Regions from separate parts of the Homo sapiens genome. Here all the other regions are linked to region 7. The links are contacts of gene promoters, found by promoter capture Hi-C in blood cells and fetal thymus (Javierre and others, 2016). All regions are on one chromosome and are shown on one strand. Each heading gives the region's core, a stretch centred on a gene start or on the middle of the fragment in contact. The rest is flanking DNA. Distances are from core to core; before and after follow the strand shown.

Region 1 (2,700 bases), core at 96-2,595, 2.3 Mb before region 7:
TTGGACTGGCTCTAACTAACACCTTATGCACACTTTCAGGGAGTAGAGGCCTTACATTTGCTTTGATATTAACAGCCCAGTTTTTCTGTCATTGTGATAAAGCAGGAATGTGTGATTATTTTTCTTTTATTTCTATTTTTAAAAAATGCTTATTATGTCCTCCACTTAGGTACATGTCTGTTGTGAACAGCTCATTCCTGTAAAATGCTGCTCATCATTGCTGCAAGTCAGTGCAACAAACTGTGCATATGAATTACTGTTGAAAGAGGTATTGGTTTAGCAGCACAAATGATTGGGTTATATTTCTCTCAAACTAAGGGACGTTTGGGAGAGGTGGGGAGATAATTTTCCCATCTGTTTCCTGAACTCTGTTAGATATCCAGGGGCAGAGCTGTTTGTTACTCTAGCTGAATCTTTATGTAGAAAAAGGATGGCCTGATTATTCATTCAGTCAGAGAGATATTTGTTCTTTCGATTAATATTTGTGGAATATATAAAGCACTTGGAAACATGAGTGAACAGAAGCAGACAAAATCCCTGACTTCTAGAAGCTTATATTCGTGTGTGTGTGTGTGTGTGTGTGTGTGTGTGTGTGTGTGTAGGGGAACATAAACAATAAACATTATAAAGAAGTGATTATGTTGGATGAAATAAGTGTTATGGAAAACGTATAAGTAGAACAAGGTGAGGGGGATAGAGAATACAAGGTGGAAGAAGAGCAAACTATGGGATTGAACTGAGTGATCAGAGCAAGCTTCCCATAGAAAATGGATCTGAACAAAAATTGGAAGGAGGTAAGAGTGTTAGCTCAGCAGGATGAAGAACTAGAGCAAAGGCCTAAGGTAGGTGTGCATTTTCATGAGACTGTGTTAATATCATGTATTTCAGATTACTCATTTTGGTGAGTTATTTGTCTTATAAACTCTGGGTGCTTCTGAGACACCAGTGCCTGTTTTTGGAATGATTTCATAAAACTTTCCAAGTTGAAGAGAGCCTGAGGGGAGGGTGAGGTTCAAATACGAGTTGTGAGGGTGGTAAGAGATGATGACAGCTACCATCTATTGAGTGTTTATCATCCGAAAGGCAGGGCTGACCACATGGCCTGCCACCCATGCAGTGCCACGGGGTCCACACTTGGTTTGATGCTGTGCTGTCACCATCTTGAAAATCTTAATTCTTTTTGAACTGGGGACCTTACATTTTCATTTTGCACTGGGTTTCACAAATTACGTAGCTGGTCCTGCTGAAAGACATTGTGTCTAGTGCTTTACAAATATTATGCCATTTAACCCTTGTAATGACCCAGTGAAATGAGCCATTTTTATTACTTTTATTTTACATATAAGAAAAATGAGGCTTCGTGAGTTTAAGCCACTTGGCTCAGTTCCCACAGCTATTTAGTGATAGAACCAGGATTCAAACCCATGTTTGCCTGCCTGCAAGTACTTGCCTATCAGGCTGTCTGAGTGAAGAATCCTGACTTAAAGAGAAGGAACTGAATAAGAGGTTGGGAGAGAGTGATTGGAATATAGGAACTGCTGAGCCTGAAAGCAGCTAATGTTTAAATGAGGCTGACAGTGGCAGCCACCAAACCTTCCTAGTGAGATCACTTTTGTTGCTCTTACTAGGGATTTAGTTACTACATGCATGATTGCTAATGCTCTGTTTTAGCAAACCTGTCACATACTTGATTTAAACAATTTAGAATGTTCAAGTTACCCAAGGCTGAGATTATGATGTTTCTCAGGAGCCTTCTGTTAACCGTTAGGAGCAATGTTTTTTTTCATTTGGTTAGTTATGAAGACATCTTGGTCTACAAGGACAAAGGCAGACAGGTTCAGAGTCTACAAAATAATGAAGCATATGGATAGGGCAAAGATGGACTGATCATTAGATCCTGAATTGCTAAAGCTCTGGGCTTCCTCTTGAAGCTTAAAAAATTGTTTCCATACAGATGATGAAATGTTATTTTAATTCAGTGAGTACTGATTTTAGGAAAGCTGTTGCTTCAAGATGGAATACAGGCTAAAATTGGTTCAGAAAAGATGGCAAATCTAGAAATCAGGAGAATATCTCTTGGGGTTCGGTACCACCGTGAGAAGAAACCTTGCCTCTTTCCCCAGACCTGCCTGTATGTTGGACATTTCTGCCATTTGTATTGTATTCCTATAAAATTCTCTGAAAATTACTTTCTGGGAATTGTCTGTGCTTTTGTAATTTCTATTTTATTTTATTTTATTTTATTTTATTTTTGAGATGGGTCTTGTTCTGACACCCAGACTAGAGTGCAGTTGCTCAATCATGGCTCACTGCAGGCTTAACCTTCCAGGCTCAAGTGATCCTCCCACCTCAGCCTCCAGAGTAGCTGGGAGTATCAGTGTGTGCCACCATGCCTGGCTAATTTTTTTCTTCTTTTTTTTTGGTAGAAACGGGATCTCAGTATGTTGCCCAGGCTGGTCTCCAACTCCTGGGTTTAAGGGACCCTCTTGCCTTGGCCTCCCAAAGTGCTGGGATTACAGGTGTGAGCCACTGTGCTCAGCCCCCTTTTGCAATTTAAAGAGCAAAATAATCTATAAATTTTAAAATGTATTTTATATATGTATAAACTGTATCTGGAAGGATGCTCAAGAAGTGGATAATTTTTGGGAAAGCAGCTTGGGGAAGTGGAAGTCAAGAGATGAAGGGAAGCATGTCTACACA
Region 2 (2,700 bases), core at 31-2,530, 2.4 Mb after region 7:
TAGCCAAAGCAATCTTGGAAAAAAAAAAAAATCAATGTGGAGGTCTCACACTTCCTGATTTCAAAACTTACTAAAAATCCGCAGTAATCAAAATAGCATGGTACTTGCATAAAAATAAACACATAGATAAATATAGTAGAATAAGCCATACAGAAATAAGCCTATTCATCTATGATCAATTGATTTTCTTTTTTTTTTTTTTTAGACGAAGTCTCTTTCTGTCACCCAGGCTGGAGTGCAGTGGCTCAATCTCAGCTCACTGTAACCTCTGACTCCCAGGTTCAAGCAATTCTTGTGCCTCAGCCTTCCAAGTAGTAGACACGGGGTTTTGCCATGTTGGCCAGGCTGTTCTTGAACTCCTGACCTCAGGTGATCTGCCCACCTCAGCCTCCCAAAGTGCTGGGATTACAGGCATGACCCACCGCACCCAAACAGTCAATTGATTTTCAACAAAGCTGACAGTACCATTCAATAAGGAAAGAATAGTCTCCTCAATAGATGGTGTTGAAAACTGGATAAGCATAAGCAAAAAAGTGAAGATGGACCCTACCTCATACAATATGCAAAAATTAACTAAAAGTGGATCAAAGACCTAAATATGAGATAAAACTCTTAGAACAAAATACAAGGGTAAATTTTCATGATTCTTAGCTATGACATCAAAAGCATAAGCAACAAAAGAAAAAATAGGTATATTGGGCTTTATTAAAATTAAAAACCCTCATACATCAAAGTACACTTTTCAAGAAAGTGAAAAGACAGGCACAGGATGGGAGAGAATAAAAGCAAATCACATACAGTATCTGGTAAGAGTTCTGTATCTAGACTATGTGAAGAACTCTTACAACTCAACACAAAAGGAAATAAAAATTAAAACCTAGGCAATGGATGTGAATAGACATTTCTCCAAAGAAGATACACAAATGGCCAAAAAGCACATAAAAAGATGCTCGACATCATTAATCATTATAGGAAAATGCAAAACCATAATGAGATACCACTTCACACCCACTAGGTTGGTTACAATTTTTTTAATGGAAAATAAATGTTGGCAAGTATGTGGAGAAACTGGAACCCTTGTACATTTATTTTGGGAATGTGAAATGGTTCAGCCATTGCAGAAAACAATTTGGTGGTTCCTTAAAAAACTAAACATAAAGTTACCATATGACCCAGCAATTCCGCTCATAGGTATATGCACAAGAGAATTGAAAACAAGTGTTCGGAAAATAACTTGTATACAAACATTCATAAAAGCACCATTCAAAATAGCCTAAAGGTGGAAGCAGTCCAAATGTTTAACAATGAATGAACTGCAACAATATGACTGTATCAGTGTGGTATAAACAAAATGTGCTATATCCATACAATGTAATATTATTCACACATAAAAATGAAAAAAGTACTGATATATGCTACAATATTGATAAATCTTGAAATCATGCTAACAGAAAAAAGCCAGACACAAAAGGCCATATTGTGTATAACCCCATTTATCTGAAATATCCAGAACAGACAAATTCATAGAGACAGAAAGCAGATCAGTGGTTGCCAAGGGCTGCAGGGCAGGAAGAAATGAGGAATGACTGCTCAATGGATACAGAGTTTCATTTTGGAGTGATGAAATGTTCTGGAACTACAGTCAATGGTTGCATAGCTTGTGAATGTATTAAAGGTCAGTAAATTATAAACTTTAAAGTAGTCAAAAGTCATAAATTTTATGTTATGTGTTTTTCACCACACCTTAAAAAAAAATGCAGTTTGTGTAGCAGGATGGCCTAGATTCAATCCCAGCTTTCCACTTCCTGGCTAGATTACCTAGGACAAGTTACTTAACTTTACTCTGCCTCAGTTTCTTTATCTGTAAAGCAGGTGGTCATTGTACTTCACATAGAGAGTTATTGTAAGAATATGTGAGATATACATTATCAGCACTTGGTAAATATCAGCTATTATTACTAAAGTATGGTACTAATTTTGTTGAAAATACATCTCTGGGGTTATTGCAAAGTTGTTTTGAGCGTCAATAACATGGGTAATTTTTTTTTTTTTTTTTACACTTTTCTGTGTTTTACAAAGTTTCCGGGATGGGCACAGTGGCTCATGCCTGTAATCCCAGCACTTTGGGAGGCCGAGGCAGGTGGATCACCTGAGGTTAGGAGTTCGAGACCAGCCTGGCCAACATGGCAAAACCCCGTCTCTACTAAAAACATAAAAACTAGTGGGGCGTGTTGGCAAGCTCCTGTAATCCCAGCTGCTCTGGGGGCTGAGGCAGGAGAATTGCTTGAACCAGGGAGGCGGATGTTGCAGTCAGCCAAGATTGTGCCACTGCACTCCAGCCTGGGTGACAGAAGGAGACTCCATCTAAAAAAAAAAAAAAAAAAAAAAAAAATTTCCAGGTGTTGCTTTTTATAAGCAGAAATACACAAAAGTACTTCCTTTAAAGGAGAATTGGATAAGTGTCAGAAACAATGGCCTACTTTCATCACAAAATGGAAATACAATTAAGTGATAAATAAATTAGCACACCCAAATTAATTAATTTATTTTATTTTATTTTTTTCAGACGGAGTTCTGCTCTTGTTGCCCAGGCTGGAGTGACGCGATCTCGACTCACTGCAACCTTCACCTCCCAAGTTCAAGTGATTCTCCTGCCTCAGCCTCCTGAGTAGCTGCGATTACAGGCACATGCCACCATGC
Region 3 (2,700 bases), core at 67-2,566, 2.3 Mb before region 7:
CTTTCCTTCTATCTGAGTCGTGGCTAGGATCAACATACACTTCTTAAATATTCCAATTCCATATCAAGGATAGTGCTCCTCCTTCTCCCTGAGCCACTGGAGGGAGCACCAATGTATTAACAGTTTTCTTTGTTGACTGAATTTGCTTTTTTTAACCTGCTTTCTGAAAGTGCATCACATTACCATCCAAACTTATTGGACATAATTTTTTAAAGTATGTAAGCAAGTAACATATAATCTATTTTACAAATTATGCAGTAAGACATAGTGGGATATAATTTAAGAAGATGCAACTAGCCCTTATTTTTCCACTCTCTGGAGGAATTTCATAACTTTTCACATGTTTGCACTTCCTGTCTCTGATCTGTATCTTCTTTGGCTCCTCTGTCTTGATGCCCCTCCCAACTTCTGTTCACCTAAGTCCTTGATGCCATCAGTGAACATCAGATTCCTTCTTTGGAAGACCAGTGGTTCTCAGAGTGTGCTTTATGGACCAGCAAAGCATACGAGAACTTGGTAGAAAGACATATTCTTGGGCCCCACTGCAGACCTACTGAATTAGAAACTCTAGGGTGAGATGCACCCATTGTGTTTTAATAAACTCTCCAGGTGATTGTGATACACCCTCAGGTTTAAGCATTCCTGCCCTAGAGGAGGAGGCTAGATTCAGTAGGTGTTTCTCCCAGTTGCCCATTTTGACATAAATAATAGCACTTTGTTTTGCTCCTCCTCAGGCATAGAATCCCATAGTTTTAAGTGGAGTGGGATTTTGAGTGGACGTTACCCTGGTCAACTCTCTTTACCGTAGAAGAGAGAGCTTTGCAGATAGTTGCAGTGTTTGGCTGGAGAACCTAGGGCTTTCTATGTCCTTGCTTATAACATGGGCTGTGTCACTTCCTTGAAACTTTAATCAGTGCTTCCTGAGACCAGGGTTCTTTGTAAAATAACTTAAGGAAGTATTCCAGAAGAACCAATAGCATTGGTCTACTCACCTGTGTGTTCTATTAACATTTTAATATTAACAATATTCTGATATTTCAGATGTAGATTGCAAAGCCTCACAATCAAGGGGCTTTTGTCATTGATTCGATTTAATTATCCTAAGGGAAAAAATGGAATGCTTAAACTAGCAAAAGTTCACGTTTCTGTCTTTTTGGCCATGTTTTCCTCAACGAGTGTAAATATATTTGTGCGCATGTGTGTTGATACTGCGTGTTGGAAAGACAGAAGGAGACAGACTAAATTTCTGTTTATAGAAAAATCGTAAGTAATCTGAGGAAGCAGTAATTACTGGAGTTGGCAACAGTTTGAGCACTATCCTGTCCCTTGATCTAACTCTGGCTTTAGAGATAGTTGAATTTAGAATGTTACCTTATGGGCAGTTTCTTTATCTATTTTGTTTCCCCGGTTGGACAATCTCTGTAGTAGAACTAGAGTTTGGTCACTACTTGTATTAGTCTGTTCTTACGCTGCTGATAAAGACATACCTGAGTCTGGGTAATTTATAAAGAAAAAGAGGTTTCATGGACTCACAATTCCACGTGGTTGGCGGAAGGCAAAAGGCACGTCTTACGTGGTGGCAGACGAGATAATTGAGAGCCAAGCAAAAGAGGTTTCCCCTTATAAAACCATCAGATCTCATGAGATGTATTCACTACCATGAGAACAGTATGGGTGAAACCGCCTCCATCATTCAATTATCTCCTTCCAGGTCCCTCCCACAACATGTGGGAATTATGGGAGCTCAATTCAAGGTGAGATTTGGGTGGGAACAAAGCCAAACCATATCACTACTGGATTATGACTCTCTATAATTTGAAAAGAATGGTAGAATTTAAAGAATTTGAAAGCAGTCCGTTTGTTTTCAATATTGGATTGTTCAATATTGATTACCTTGCATATCATGCTTGTTCCCTCCCCATCTTTGTGGGAGTGCAGGAGGCACAAAGAAAGCCTTTAACTGAATGATCTGGTTTTTCTAGATGGCTTAACATTTTTGTATTTGATGGGTCAATAGCCTTGGGTGCTTTAGTCTAGATGCTGAGTGCTCAAAAGGCTAAACACGGAGGAAAACATTCCCCTGTCGAAACACATGATTGATTTGGTAGTGACAAGTGTTTTGGGAGCCAGAGACATGCTAGTGGGTTAAGCAAGGGTTTGTTTGTTTGTTTGTTTGTTTTGCTTTGTTTTGTTTGTTTTGAGAGGAAGTCTCGCTCGTGTCCCCTAGGCTGGAGTGCGATGACATGATCTTGGCTCATTGCAACCTCCATCTCCTGGGTTCAAGTGATTCTCCTGCCTCAGCCTCCCAAGTAGCTGGGATTGCAGGTGCCTGCCACCACGCCTGGCTAATTTTTGTATTTTTAGTAGAGACAGGGTTTCACCATGTTGGCCAGGCTGGTCTACGAACTCCTGACCTCAGGTGATCCGCCCGCCACGACCTCCCAAAGTGCTGGGATTACAGGCGTGAGCCACCGCGCCTGGCCGCAAGTGTTTCTTTAACATGGCCATCTTAAAAGGGATAAAGGATCTTCTAGGAATTTATTTCAGCTGAAAACAGATTGTGATACATTCTTACTTTGGTGTTGTCATCATTTGTTCATTTCTATTTTTTCTTTCTTTCTTCAACAGATATGTCAAATACTATCCTAACATTGAACAAAATAAGTTGTTTAAAAAAAAACACCAAAATAAAAAAGGCAA
Region 4 (2,700 bases), core at 110-2,609, 2.8 Mb before region 7:
CAGCTTTATCTATAAAATACCAGAAAACCCAAATCACTTTGTATTATTTCTCTTCGCCGTCTCAAAATAAAACCTTTGAAAGAGACACACAACAAAACAACGTCTCTTGGTTCCTTTGTCCCCAGCAGAGGAGAGGGAAGAGAACTGGGAACTCATTAAGGTAAAGAGCCCCAAACATGCAAGATAAGAAATAAATGACATCCGATCTGCAATCAATCATCAAAGAAAGTCACCATCACTTCATCTTCATCCCTCCCTTCTCCCCTGCAGCTCAAATAACGTGAGTATAGACGAGATGATCAGGATCATATGGACCTGGACAAAGCTTTGTGGAGGCAGCGGGCGGGTAGCAGTTAACTGGCTGCAGCCGGCAAAGAACCCGAGATTCCGGCTGCAGGAGACTCCGACAGAGGTCTGCAAAAGTGCGAGTGGCAGGGGCCGCCCGGCTGTTGAGAATGCGGAGCAGCGGCGGCGGCGGCGGCGCGGTCAAGTCCACAGCGCCCGGGGAAGTTGCTGGCCGAGCGCGACACGCCGCAGAGCGCGGGCCCTCCATGTCACCGTCGCCAGCACAGACCCTCCTGCTCGCCCCTCCCCCGCCGCGCACCCCGGGCGGCGGCGACATGACAGCGGGTCGCGCCGCACAAGGGCGCCCGCCCCCTCCTGGCCCTCTCCCCGGGCTCCCCAGCGGCCGCGGCCGGTTCTCACCTTGGGTGGCGAACGGCGACGAGCCGCTGACCGGCGAGCCGGGGGCAGGGACGGGTGGCGGGGTCTCGGCCGAGCCCAGCATGGGCGCGGGCAGCATGAGGTAGCGCTGGGGCGCGGGCAGGCAGCGCTGGCAGAAAGAGTGCAGGCAGGGCAGCAGCTTGGGCGCCCGGCTCTGGATGTTCTGGTGGCACACGGCGCAAGTGTCCAACAGGTTGAGCCGGGCCGCCTCGCCGCCGCGCTCCGAGTCCGGGCCCTGCCGACTCTCGGCCTCGTTCTCCCCGCTCGGCGCCGCCGAGGGCCCCCCGGAGGCCGCAGCCGAGGCCGCTGCCGCCGCCGCCACCGCCTTCTCCACCGCCACCTCCATTGTCCTGCCCTTGCCGCCGCCGGGGAAGCGAGAGCGCGGTCTCCGCCCGCCGCCCCCGACGACCTCCTCCTCCTCCTGCGGCTGCTCCTCAGAGGCCGCTCGGTGGACTCGCGGCAGCGCCAGCGAGGGAGGGAAAGCAAACCGGGCGGGGGAAGCCTCCTCAGGCCCACGGGATCCGCCTCCCGAGTGGCGCGGCCGGAAGGAGGGTATCTGTCAGCGGAGACCGTTCCTCGCACCGGGGAGGCTGCACCCCGTCCGCTTCGCCAACCGCCGAGGCGCTCGTGGAATACGCCCAGCCCGCCCTTGCCTCCCCGCCTTTCTCTTCATCCCCCTGGCCCACCTCAGGCCCCGCCCCCGCCCCCGCCCTCCCTCTCCCAGCAACTGAGGCTTCGGTGTGGAGCGCGCCGCCCAATAGCGGCCGCGCCTGGCGAGGGGGCGGGACCTGTTGGAGCCCGCGAGGCTCCGTCGGCCGCGGCGGGAGGTTGGGAAGTGGGAGGTGCTTGCCCAGCCCCGCCCCCTCCGGACGCCTGAAATCGCGGCTTCTGATTGGGCCTTTGTGTATGTTTCCTCCTCTGAAAAGATTAAGGGTTCATTTGTTAACGACCATCCGCCTGATTCGGTCCGCGGTGTTAGCTCCTCCTAGGGGGCGGGACCTCACTTGTCTACTCAATGCCGTTAATTAAGTAACTGCTTGGAAAACTGATTTCATTACTGGAGACCTGGTCTTGTAGGAGGAGTAAATATGGTCGGAGGGTCACAGGAGGAAGGAGTGGAGGTACTGAAGAGCAAACAAGGAAATAATTTTTTAAAATACTGTGTGAAAGAGGTACTCTGGAGGCAGCAGGGATATTGCAACCTAATTTTACTCATCTCTAGAATGAATGAGTATGAAGAATAAGGGGGGGAAGTTCTCGTGCAAGTTGGAAATTTTTAAAGGGTTTCCCCAATGAAAAAGGTGAAATTAATTTTTAAAGTCAGTGATTTGCTTTTTAAGTGACTAAAAGTGGTTCGTTTTCCCAGGAATTAATACAGATTGACAAATGTTTTTATTGCATAAATATAGCATCATTAAGCAAAAATAAACCTCAATACTGTTACCCAAATAATTCATAACTTCAGGATTCTTTTGTATTTCCTCCCTCCCTCTTATTTTATTCCCTCCCTCCCTCCCTCACCTCTCTACGCTGATATCAGAAGTTACGCACATTTTTCACTCAAAAAATGGCGCAGCTTTTAAGGAACTTGAAGAATAGAAACGGAATGAAGGAAACAAGATTTTGTAACACGTAACTTTAAGAAGTATTTACCTTTTTTTTTTTTTTTTGTCAATACTAATGAAGCGGTACTGGACTTTAGAGAAAGATGGAGTGGGTCATGAAAGGCTTTGCTAAAATCACAGTTTTCCTGGAGGACTATATGGGATGGCAATGGGGGAGGGCTAGGCAACGTAGCCTTCCTTCAAGACCTTGCCCTTAAACACAACCTCCGTAGGCCTCAAGTGAGAGGTTCTTTTACTTAATCACAAGACATTCAACAGCTCTTCCCGCCTCCCCCACCCATTGGTTCCTGTTTAAGCTTGGGATTTTTTGTTTGTTTGTTTTTTTGCATGGAAGTAGCTCTTAAACCTTAGT
Region 5 (2,700 bases), core at 137-2,636, 2.6 Mb after region 7:
GATAGCTCCATACGTGTTATTGCCTCTGAAGACCTTTCAGTGGGACAAGATGTGAAGGTGGAAGACAGTGATATTGATGATCCTGACCCCGTGTAGGTCTAGGCTAATGTGTGTGTGTTTGTCTTAATTTTTAACAAAAATGTTTAAAAAGTAAAAAGTAAATAATTTCAAAAATAGAAAAAGCTTATAGACTAAGTATATAAAGAAAGAAATATTTTTGTACAGCTATATAGTGTGTTTGTGTTTTAAGCTAAGTGTTATTAAAGAGTCAAAAAGTCACAAAAAAAGAAGTTTATAAGTTTAAAAAGTTACAGTAAGCTAAGGTCAATTTATTCTTGAAGAATGAAAATATATGAAAATAAATTTAGTGTTGCCTAAGTGCACAGTGTTGATAAAAGGTACAGTACTGCATAGTTGCGTCCCAGGCCTTCACATTCAACTCCCCACTCACTCACTGACTCACTCAGGGCAACTTCCAGTCCTGTAAGCTCCATTCATGGTAAGTGCCCTATAGAAGCATACCATTTTTTATCTTTGATTTTTTTTTTAATGGAATGCTTCAGAAATTCATGTGTCAACCTTGCTCAGGGGCTGTGCTAATCTCTGTATTGTTCAAATTGTCCTAGATGTGTTGCCAAAGCAATCACTTTTACACTGTTTTTGCTGTAGCTTTTCTATGTTTACATATATTTGTACACACAAATACCACTGTGTTACAATTGCCTACAGTATTTAGTACAGTGACATGCTGTACATCTTTGCAGCCTGGGAGCAATAGGTTACACCAAGTAGCCCAGGTGTGTAGTAGGCTACACCATCTGGGTTTGTGTAAGTACACTCTATGATGTTTGCACAACCACAGATATCACAGGGTCACCTAACGAGGCATTTCTCAGAAGTAGTCTTCATTAAGCTACCCTACGACTGTAATGAAACGCTAAGTTTTGAGCCAGGAATTTGTGTATAGAACACTAGGAATGGCTTCATTAGTATCATGCATCTTTTTCATTAAACTGTGAGTCCCTTTGAGAGAAAGATTGTGTCTCTGAACTTAGTGGCCTAAATTTCTAGAATTATGTCTTCAAAAAGTTGCCCAGTTAGGCGTCTCTGGGGAGTCAAAACCACAACTCCCAGAATGCCGTGCTCCCTTAGCGCGCTCAGGCGCGGGGAGAGAATGTCCCATCACCCACCGCGCCAGATCGAGACCACAGTTCCCACTACACCCAGGGACTCCGCGGAAAGCTATCAAACACCACCTGTTGCCATAGCATCCGGGTCGGGTGAACCAATCCGGGCGCCCTCGCCGAACAGAGGCGGGCAGTTCGCATCGCCGACCAACCTGAGGCGTTTTTGTTGTGGCGCGTGACCGGAGGAGGCGGGAGCTCAGGACCGGCGCCTTCTCCTTGCTTCTGGGGGTCGTGGCCTTGCTCCCGCTGTGCGGGAAAAGAATCCAGGCCCTTCCACGCGCGTGTGGGTGCGGGGGCCCCGAAGTGCTCGTGGTTCCCCGCTAGGTCTCCGCTGGGGCAGGAACCGGAATCATGGGTGGGACCACCAGCACCCGCCGGGTCACCTTCGAGGCGGACGAGAATGAGAACATCACCGTGGTGAAGGGCATCCGGGTGAGTGCCCGTGGACGGGCGGAGGGCCAGTGGTTGGACTCGGACCCCAAGGCCCCATCTTCTCCGGACCCGCTCAGCCTGGGTTTCTCCCGTCCTGGACCCTAGCGTATTAAGGCCAGAAGCCCAGGTGTCTGGGAAGAAGCCTAGAGTTTCAAGACGTGGGACATTCATTCAGAGATAGTTCCTGGTTGTGCCAAGTGCTAGGCACTGCTGGGGCGGGCGGGGAATGCCAGGTTGAATTATACCCTGCAAGGGCTCACAGTCTACTCGTAACTGTACTGCTCCCTTGTTGCAGGACCGTATTTGAAACCCATACCTCGGTGTACTTGTCTGTGAAATGGTTTTCCTGGGTTCAGGACCCAAACCCTGCTTTTCCACTGTGCACACCCTGTCTCCCAGGGTGAATTGGCATTTTAAGGATTGCCTTTGCTTTGTGTCATTTAGTGCTCTCCCTCTGATAACACCCCCTCCTCCCACCCACTCCCCACACCCTGTCATCCTCCCTCCCAGCCCCACAGTCTTTTCTGACCTGCCTGGGGCGGCTTCTGGCTTCTCCCTGCTTCACTTTCACTTGATATCTCCTCTTTCCCAGGCGCCTCCTCTGTGACCTGCTGCGCCGAAGTTTTGGATTAGGCCCAGTTGCTTCAGGACTAGTGTCTGCCAGTCTGATAGGGGCTGAGATGGGTTTGCAGTTTTTCATACCAGTAGAAGTAATGTAGTCATTTCTGACCAACGTTGTAGAGCACTTTTTTTTTAATGCCCTTTGCATGCACCTGATACATAAACTGAAAACCTGGTTTTTCTCTAGGGTGTCAGTATACCAGCACTAACTTCATTAACACACTCTCCGCTGCGCCTGAATTTGGAGCCTCACATTTTTGGACGTATGATGCCTGAACCTAGTAAATAAAGCAATTTTGACTTCAGAAAGTTTTATAATAATTTATATATTTTTTTCTGTTATCAACCAGCGTAAATAAATTACATTTGTAAATTATTTTTAACAGTTGTTACCAGGAAATAAAACTTCTTAAATATTTAAAATGTTTAAAAACTTTTTCTTCTGAAACTGTTACCTTGA
Region 6 (2,700 bases), core at 161-2,660, 2.0 Mb before region 7:
ATTTTTGTATTTTTTTAGTTGAGATGAGGTTTCACCATGTTGGCCAGGCTGGTCTCAAACTCCTGACTTCAAGTGTTCTGCCCACCTCGGCCTCCCAAAGTGCTGGGATTACAGGTGTGAGCCACCGTGTCTGGCCAACATATGATTTTTGAGGAGACACAGTTTAGTCCATAGTATCCCCCATAAAAAATAATTACATGCCCATGTACATCTGATGAATAAAATAAAAACAAGAGTAATTTTCCTGTAAGCCATGGAGACTTAGTCTTGTTTCTTTATGGTTAATCTAATACAATACTTTCCCTAACAGCTCAGAGCTCCTTTTAAGCAAATGAGCAAAATATACAATTAATATATAAATCTATAATTTCCAAGATAGAGTCCCATAAGAAGGAATATGGAATTCTATTCATCGTACGATTAAAAAAAAAAAAAAACAGTTTGCTTCCCCCTTTCCCCAATACCGCACTACACATTTCTGGAAAATAGGGTTGTTGCTCATCAGGTCATACATTCTAGCAGCTCTGTTCCCCATCCAAAGTATATGAATATTTTTAGAAGCAATAACATTTAGTTTGAAAAATTGAGAAGTAATTGGGTGAAGACCTTACTGAATTAGTAAGATGTGAATTAGCAGAAACGTATTATGCTTTGAGTACACAGGGACTTAGTTTTAAGAAGCCTCTGCCCTTAGAAATATAATTTACCTATTACTGGTATAACTGTGTTTTCAAACTGTCTTTACTTAAAATACTTTAATGCTACCATCCTCCTTTTTAGCTAATTTGTTAAGCTTATTCACTAAGCAAAGTCAAATTTTAATATAATTTTAGTCTCAGTTGTCATGACATTTGCAGTGGTGGGCCTGGTGAATAAGGTTTGACATCGAACTATTTAGAGGTGTTTTTTCCTCATTTGTTGAATATGTTTCAAAAATGTCCACCTCCATGGATAAAGCAGCTATAAACCTAATGTTTATTTTAGTTATAGCTCAAAGTTTTTCCAAACACCTTTCTCCCTTTTTAGAATTTCGGGAGAATCAACTCTAGCAGTACTTTTAGTGGTCAAATGAGAAATGTTTAGACTCCTTGGTTTCACTAACTTTCTTGTATCCCAAATCTAAATTTGAAATAGTTTTCCTTATCCCTGGAAAAAAAAAATTGATGTCAGGTGGGTCTTTTCCTTGCAGGAGAATGCCGTGAATGGAGAACACCTGTGGCTGGAGACCAACGTCTCGGGAGACCTCTGCTACCTTGGAGAGGAGAACTGCCAAGTCAGATTTGCAGTGAGTGTGCGCTCCGTCTTGCTGGGGGAAGGCCTGTGGATCTGAATGAATAGAGGGGTCACCTTGCCTAAATTTCCAAGGGGAGGTTTGAACGAGCCTGTCCTTGTGAGATGGAAAACTTTCCGGATGTTTTCAAGGTTTGCAGAGAGTTTCTCAAGTTAACATGGCTTTCAGGTTGTCGCTCGTAATGGTTTTAGGGTTCACTTATGCAGGCCAGGCCTTGGTGTCATGTGTTACTTTATAATGATGCCCAGGGTAGGTTGTTGTGTGTTGGTGGGGGGCAGAGGGTAAATGTGTACGAGGTAGTGTCTCCTTATGGAGGAGTTGTTGGTGTGGGGCCAAGGCCTGTGTGTGGAGGAAGGGGCTCTGTCTGTAGGGAAGTGGCCACAGTGGGGGCTTTACTGGTGGGTGAAGGTGGAAAGAGAGGGAAACACCTGTGCTGGGAATGGGTGTAGGCTAACAAATAATCCAGACTAAGTTCTGGAGGATACGATTCTAGAAATAATATAAACAATCAACAGTCAGGTCAATTGGAGTTAACTTTTGTTGTTTAAAATTTGCTTTGTGTCCCTATTTAGAACAATCTATTTAGAGGGTTAAAATTCTCTTTATGTTGTGAGGTAAGTGTGGTTGCCAAGTAGTGCATTGTGGAGATATCAAAACCACAGTGTTGAGAAATTGAACTTAAAGTTTGTGTGTAGTTTTAAATGATTGGTCCAAACAGACAGTAATGGGAAGCTTAGGATAGTAAAGAAGAGATAAAAGATGTATTCCTTCTTATTTGGGGAAATTAGCACCAGAATTTATAGAATGCTTTTTTCTTTTTTAAAAAAATATTTGTTTATTATGTGAAAGAAATATTTGCAGCAAGATGTAGGGCCTTGAAATTGCAGATGAATATGTGTTTGTTAATAACCAATATGGAATAAATCGAGTTTCCATCAAAGCTTATAGAAGGATATGTATAGCCCCCAACGATTTTAACCAGGCTGCCTAAAAGCACAAAGTCCCAGAACCAAGACCTTTTTTGTTGCTTTAGCTGTTTTAACTCCTTGTTTATAAATTTCATTTGGAGAGTTTTGAGAGTTCTGGGGAGAACAGGGCCTGTTTAAGTGAAGTTGGGAATCAATGTCAGGGAAAGACCCAGATGAACAGGCTCTGGATTGGAAGTCGGGAAACCTGGAGCTGAATCTCAGTGTTACTGCTCAGTGTGTGACATTGAGAACTCGTGACCTTTGGGCCTTGGCTACCTTCTAAAACAGAGAGTAGGATTAAATTCTTTTTTATTAATTTATTTTTGTTTCTAGACCTGTAATTAATCATTTGCTTCTCTTCTAATTTTGTTGTAAATTTAATTGACTTAAATATCAGGATTTCAACTTTATGCATATGTATTTTTAATTAAAGTATAATTG
Region 7 (2,700 bases), core at 39-2,538:
TGCTGGCGCGCACCAGCTACTCGGGAGGCTGAGGCAGGAGAATCGCTTAAACCCAGGAAGCGGAGGCTGCAGTGAGCCGAGATCGCACTACTGCACTCCAGCCTGGCGACAGAGCGGGACTCCGTTAAAACAAACAACAAAAAAAGATACAGCATTTGAGCCGGGAGCAGTGGCTCACGCCTGTAATCCCAGCACTTTCGTAGGCTGAGGTGGGTTGATCACTTGAGGTCAGGAGTTCGAGACCAGCCTGGCCAACTTGGTGAAACCCGTCTCTACTAAAAATACAAAAATTAGCTGAGCATCCTGGTGCGCGCCTGTAATCCCAGCTACTCCGGAGGCCGAGGAGGGAGAATCGGTTGAACCCGGGAGGCGGAGGTTCCAGTGAGCCCAGATTGCGCCACTGCACTCCAGCCTGACGACACAGCGAGACTCCGTCTCAAAAAAAATAAAAAATAAAAAAAAATAGAGGTTGAAAGCATCAAGTTTTGAATGCACAATAGCTTGGCAGAAAAACTTTCACTTGAAAATTTGATGAGCAACTCCTGGAACCTTCACCAAGCAATTTTTGAAATATACCGAGTTTTGCCAGAAAACTCGTTTTTAACTCAAATAAGGAGCCAAGAGAAATAGTCTGCTTACTCATGCTTACACATTTTGGGAAAAATTACTTGTATACCAGTGTCTGACTCATTCCTCCAACTCTGAAAGGTCTGATGAGGACTTAGCCTCTCGGACTTCGTGAGGTGGCTAATTTACGGTTTATTCCTGGCCTTCCTACCTCCTCAGAAAAGCCAACTAGCAGGGCTCCACAGCAGGGACCGGCCGGCGACCATGTAATGGAACAGGAGCGCAGAAAGAAAGGGGGGCGGACTACGAAAAGTCATCAAGGACCACACAAGCTTTAATACAAAGATTGCACAATGAGCGCGGGGCGCGGCACACAATAAGAAGCTCTGGAAACGCACACTCTCTGACACCTCAAAGTTTTAGGGACTTGGATGGCTGCAGAAAAATATTGGCAAAGGGATTTTCTGGGGAGGCAGGAAGAAAACGGCCGCCCTGCGAGGCGACGACCAGGCGCGGGGGACGAAGGGACCGCTGGACCCACGCCCAGGCCGGGTCGGCGGGGTCGGCAATCCTCAAGGGGGAAATGGGGTCCGAGGCACGCCCCAGGCAGCGGGCCCCGCTCTTCGGCAGCTCCACTCACCAGGAACTGGAGCATGATGTCGGTGGGGAGGGCGAGGAGGGCGCGAAGGACTGCAGCAGCTCCGCGGGCCGGTCCGAGCCTACCTCCCCATGCGCGGGGGGGGCGGAACCCCTCGTCGACTTCCGGGTCACGCCACGCCCCGCCCCGCTCCTCCCACTCAGCCCGCGCCCGGAAACGACTTGCAGTGTCGCAGCGCCCAGGTTCCCCCTGGCGGAGCGCGTTGGCCTCACCGCCTGAACCGGCGGGGCAGCGAGCGCGCGACAGGACTTGCGAAGAGCAAGTCCCGAGCCTGGCTGGGCATCCTTGAGCATCCCGCCTCTGTAAACCTGGGCCGAGGCCCAGGAATCTATATTATTCTCAGCACGCGGACTATTCTGATACACAGCCCAGTTTAGGGCTCTCTAACCTAGAAGGACGGCATGAGCAGCGGGTCCCATCCCTAGGTTCGCAGCTGAATCGTGGGGGCTTTTGCAGCATCCTCTACTTGGGCCCAGCTGGACTTTGCGGGGAGGAAAGGAGGCTTGTAGCTCTCAAAGCTCCGCAGGTGTGCTGTGTAATCAGCGTTGTGTAATCAGGTGTTGTGTAATCAAGGTAGAGGCTGGGTACCGTATGGGGCCCATGCTGCCGTGTGCCGCACGCCAGTCACTGAGATGATGAGTTTTGTAGCAGAGAAAAGGTTTATTCACCAGGCAGCCAGCCGAGGAGACGGGAGAACAGATCTCAAATCTGCCTCCCCAAAGATGGGTTTTAGGGATATTTATGGGATAGAGGAGCAGGGTGGTCTGAGGTGTGGGGAAAGGCGGTTGAAGGTAAGGAAAAGTTTGGCAATGGGTTATCTGCGCGAGGTAGTCAAGCTTCATGGCTCTTTATAGGATACATGGTCACAAAATGACATCCTTAGCATGATCTGAGTGTGGAGGTTTTGGCCCTCTAATGTCAGAAGGACACCCATCGGGCTTTCATGCAGGCCCAGTTGAGAGGTTGGTGGTTTAAACTGTACAAGAACTGACCCCAACTTCCTGAAAAACAAGAAACCTTTATCAAGCAACCCAGATGTCAGAGATGTTATCCATAAGGAAGATAGTGGGAGCTTAGATATATATTGTTTAGCTCTGTGACTTTAGCTATGTGGGTTTTTTAATCCACTAAAAGCAGGTGACTAAAAACAAGTGAGAGAAGTTGCATTTGGCAGGCCTCATCAGGTTGGCTCTCAGTTTCACTGGCCTAGCTGGGTTTCTTGCCTGGGATGGCCATAGGTCCTGTTGACAATTTGTATCATCGCCACAAAGAGTCTGTTCTGTCAGTCTTCCGGTCTGTGTATGTGTGTGTTTTTTTCTCTCTTTCTCTTTTAAAGAATTTATTTTAAGCCTATTATACCACACAGTATGTTTTAAACACTAACTCCCTAATAAGATATATAACTCCCTAATAAGATAAAGCAAAGACAAAAAAAGTTCATCTTATTAGAAACAAGATACACCATCCCTTATTGT

Evidence for each region. Contacts are between HindIII fragments. The CHiCAGO score rates a contact against its expected background, and 5 or more counts as called.
Region 1: a fragment that was not itself captured here is called in contact with the fragment with the promoter of STMP1 in region 7 in 1 of 17 cell types (erythroblasts); the score reaches 5.1 in erythroblasts.
Region 2: a fragment that was not itself captured here is called in contact with the fragment with the promoter of STMP1 in region 7 in 1 of 17 cell types (non-activated CD4 T cells); the score reaches 10.6 in non-activated CD4 T cells.
Region 3: a contact is called between a fragment that was not itself captured here and the fragment with the promoter of STMP1 in region 7, in 1 of 17 cell types (erythroblasts). The highest score is 7.2, in erythroblasts.
Region 4: the fragment with the promoter of TRIM24 here is called in contact with the fragment with the promoter of STMP1 in region 7 in 1 of 17 cell types (total CD8 T cells); the score reaches 6.2 in total CD8 T cells.
Region 5: a contact is called between the fragment with the promoter of CHCHD3 here and the fragment with the promoter of STMP1 in region 7, in 1 of 17 cell types (naive CD4 T cells). The highest score is 6.2, in naive CD4 T cells.
Region 6: a contact is called between a fragment that was not itself captured here and the fragment with the promoter of STMP1 in region 7, in 1 of 17 cell types (M1 macrophages). The highest score is 7.4, in M1 macrophages.

What each region holds. Positions count from the first base shown.
Region 1 is chr7:137,997,280-137,999,979 of GRCh38, reverse strand. All of the region lies in intron 1 of CREB3L2 (cAMP responsive element binding protein 3 like 2), which reads left to right. Among named protein-coding and RNA genes, the nearest start is that of CREB3L2, 3.5 kb to the left of the region's middle. The HindIII fragment of the contact is 1,177 bases long and covers 757-1,933 here.
Region 2 is chr7:133,247,575-133,250,274 of GRCh38, reverse strand. No RefSeq gene overlaps it. Among named protein-coding and RNA genes, the nearest start is that of EXOC4, 4.2 kb to the left of the region's middle. The HindIII fragment of the contact is 4,060 bases long and covers 1-2,700 here.
Region 3 is chr7:137,963,816-137,966,515 of GRCh38, reverse strand. The region is part of intron 1 of CREB3L2 (cAMP responsive element binding protein 3 like 2); the gene reads left to right. Among named protein-coding and RNA genes, the nearest start is that of CREB3L2-AS1, 12 kb to the right of the region's middle. The HindIII fragment of the contact is 3,676 bases long and covers 1-2,700 here.
Region 4 is chr7:138,458,918-138,461,617 of GRCh38, reverse strand. TRIM24 (tripartite motif containing 24) reads right to left here and starts at 1,359. Exons shown (of 19, transcript NM_015905.3): 1 at 706-1,359. The coding sequence starts at 1,069. RefSeq lists silencers at 488-967, 998-1,247, 1,308-1,697 and enhancers at 1,208-1,990, 2,394-2,700. The HindIII fragment of the contact is 2,319 bases long and covers 328-2,646 here.
Region 5 is chr7:133,080,776-133,083,475 of GRCh38, reverse strand. It overlaps CHCHD3 (coiled-coil-helix-coiled-coil-helix domain containing 3), which reads left to right and starts at 1,386. Exons shown (of 8, transcript NM_017812.4): 1 at 1,386-1,619. The coding sequence starts at 1,539. It also overlaps the pseudogene RNU6-92P. RefSeq lists enhancers at 1,104-1,213, 1,424-1,603, 1,019-1,653. The HindIII fragment of the contact is 4,501 bases long and covers 186-2,700 here.
Region 6 is chr7:137,677,142-137,679,841 of GRCh38, reverse strand. It overlaps DGKI (diacylglycerol kinase iota), which reads left to right. Exons shown (of 33, transcript NM_001321708.2): 3 at 1,190-1,285. Among named protein-coding and RNA genes, the nearest start is that of DGKI, 170 kb to the left of the region's middle. The HindIII fragment of the contact is 1,230 bases long and covers 796-2,025 here.
Region 7 is chr7:135,661,102-135,663,801 of GRCh38, reverse strand. STMP1 (short transmembrane mitochondrial protein 1) reads right to left here and starts at 1,288. Exons shown (of 3, transcript NM_001130929.2): 1 at 1,208-1,288. The coding sequence starts at 1,222. RefSeq lists enhancers at 1-29, 30-554 and a silencer at 1,194-1,413. The HindIII fragment of the contact is 1,162 bases long and covers 902-2,063 here.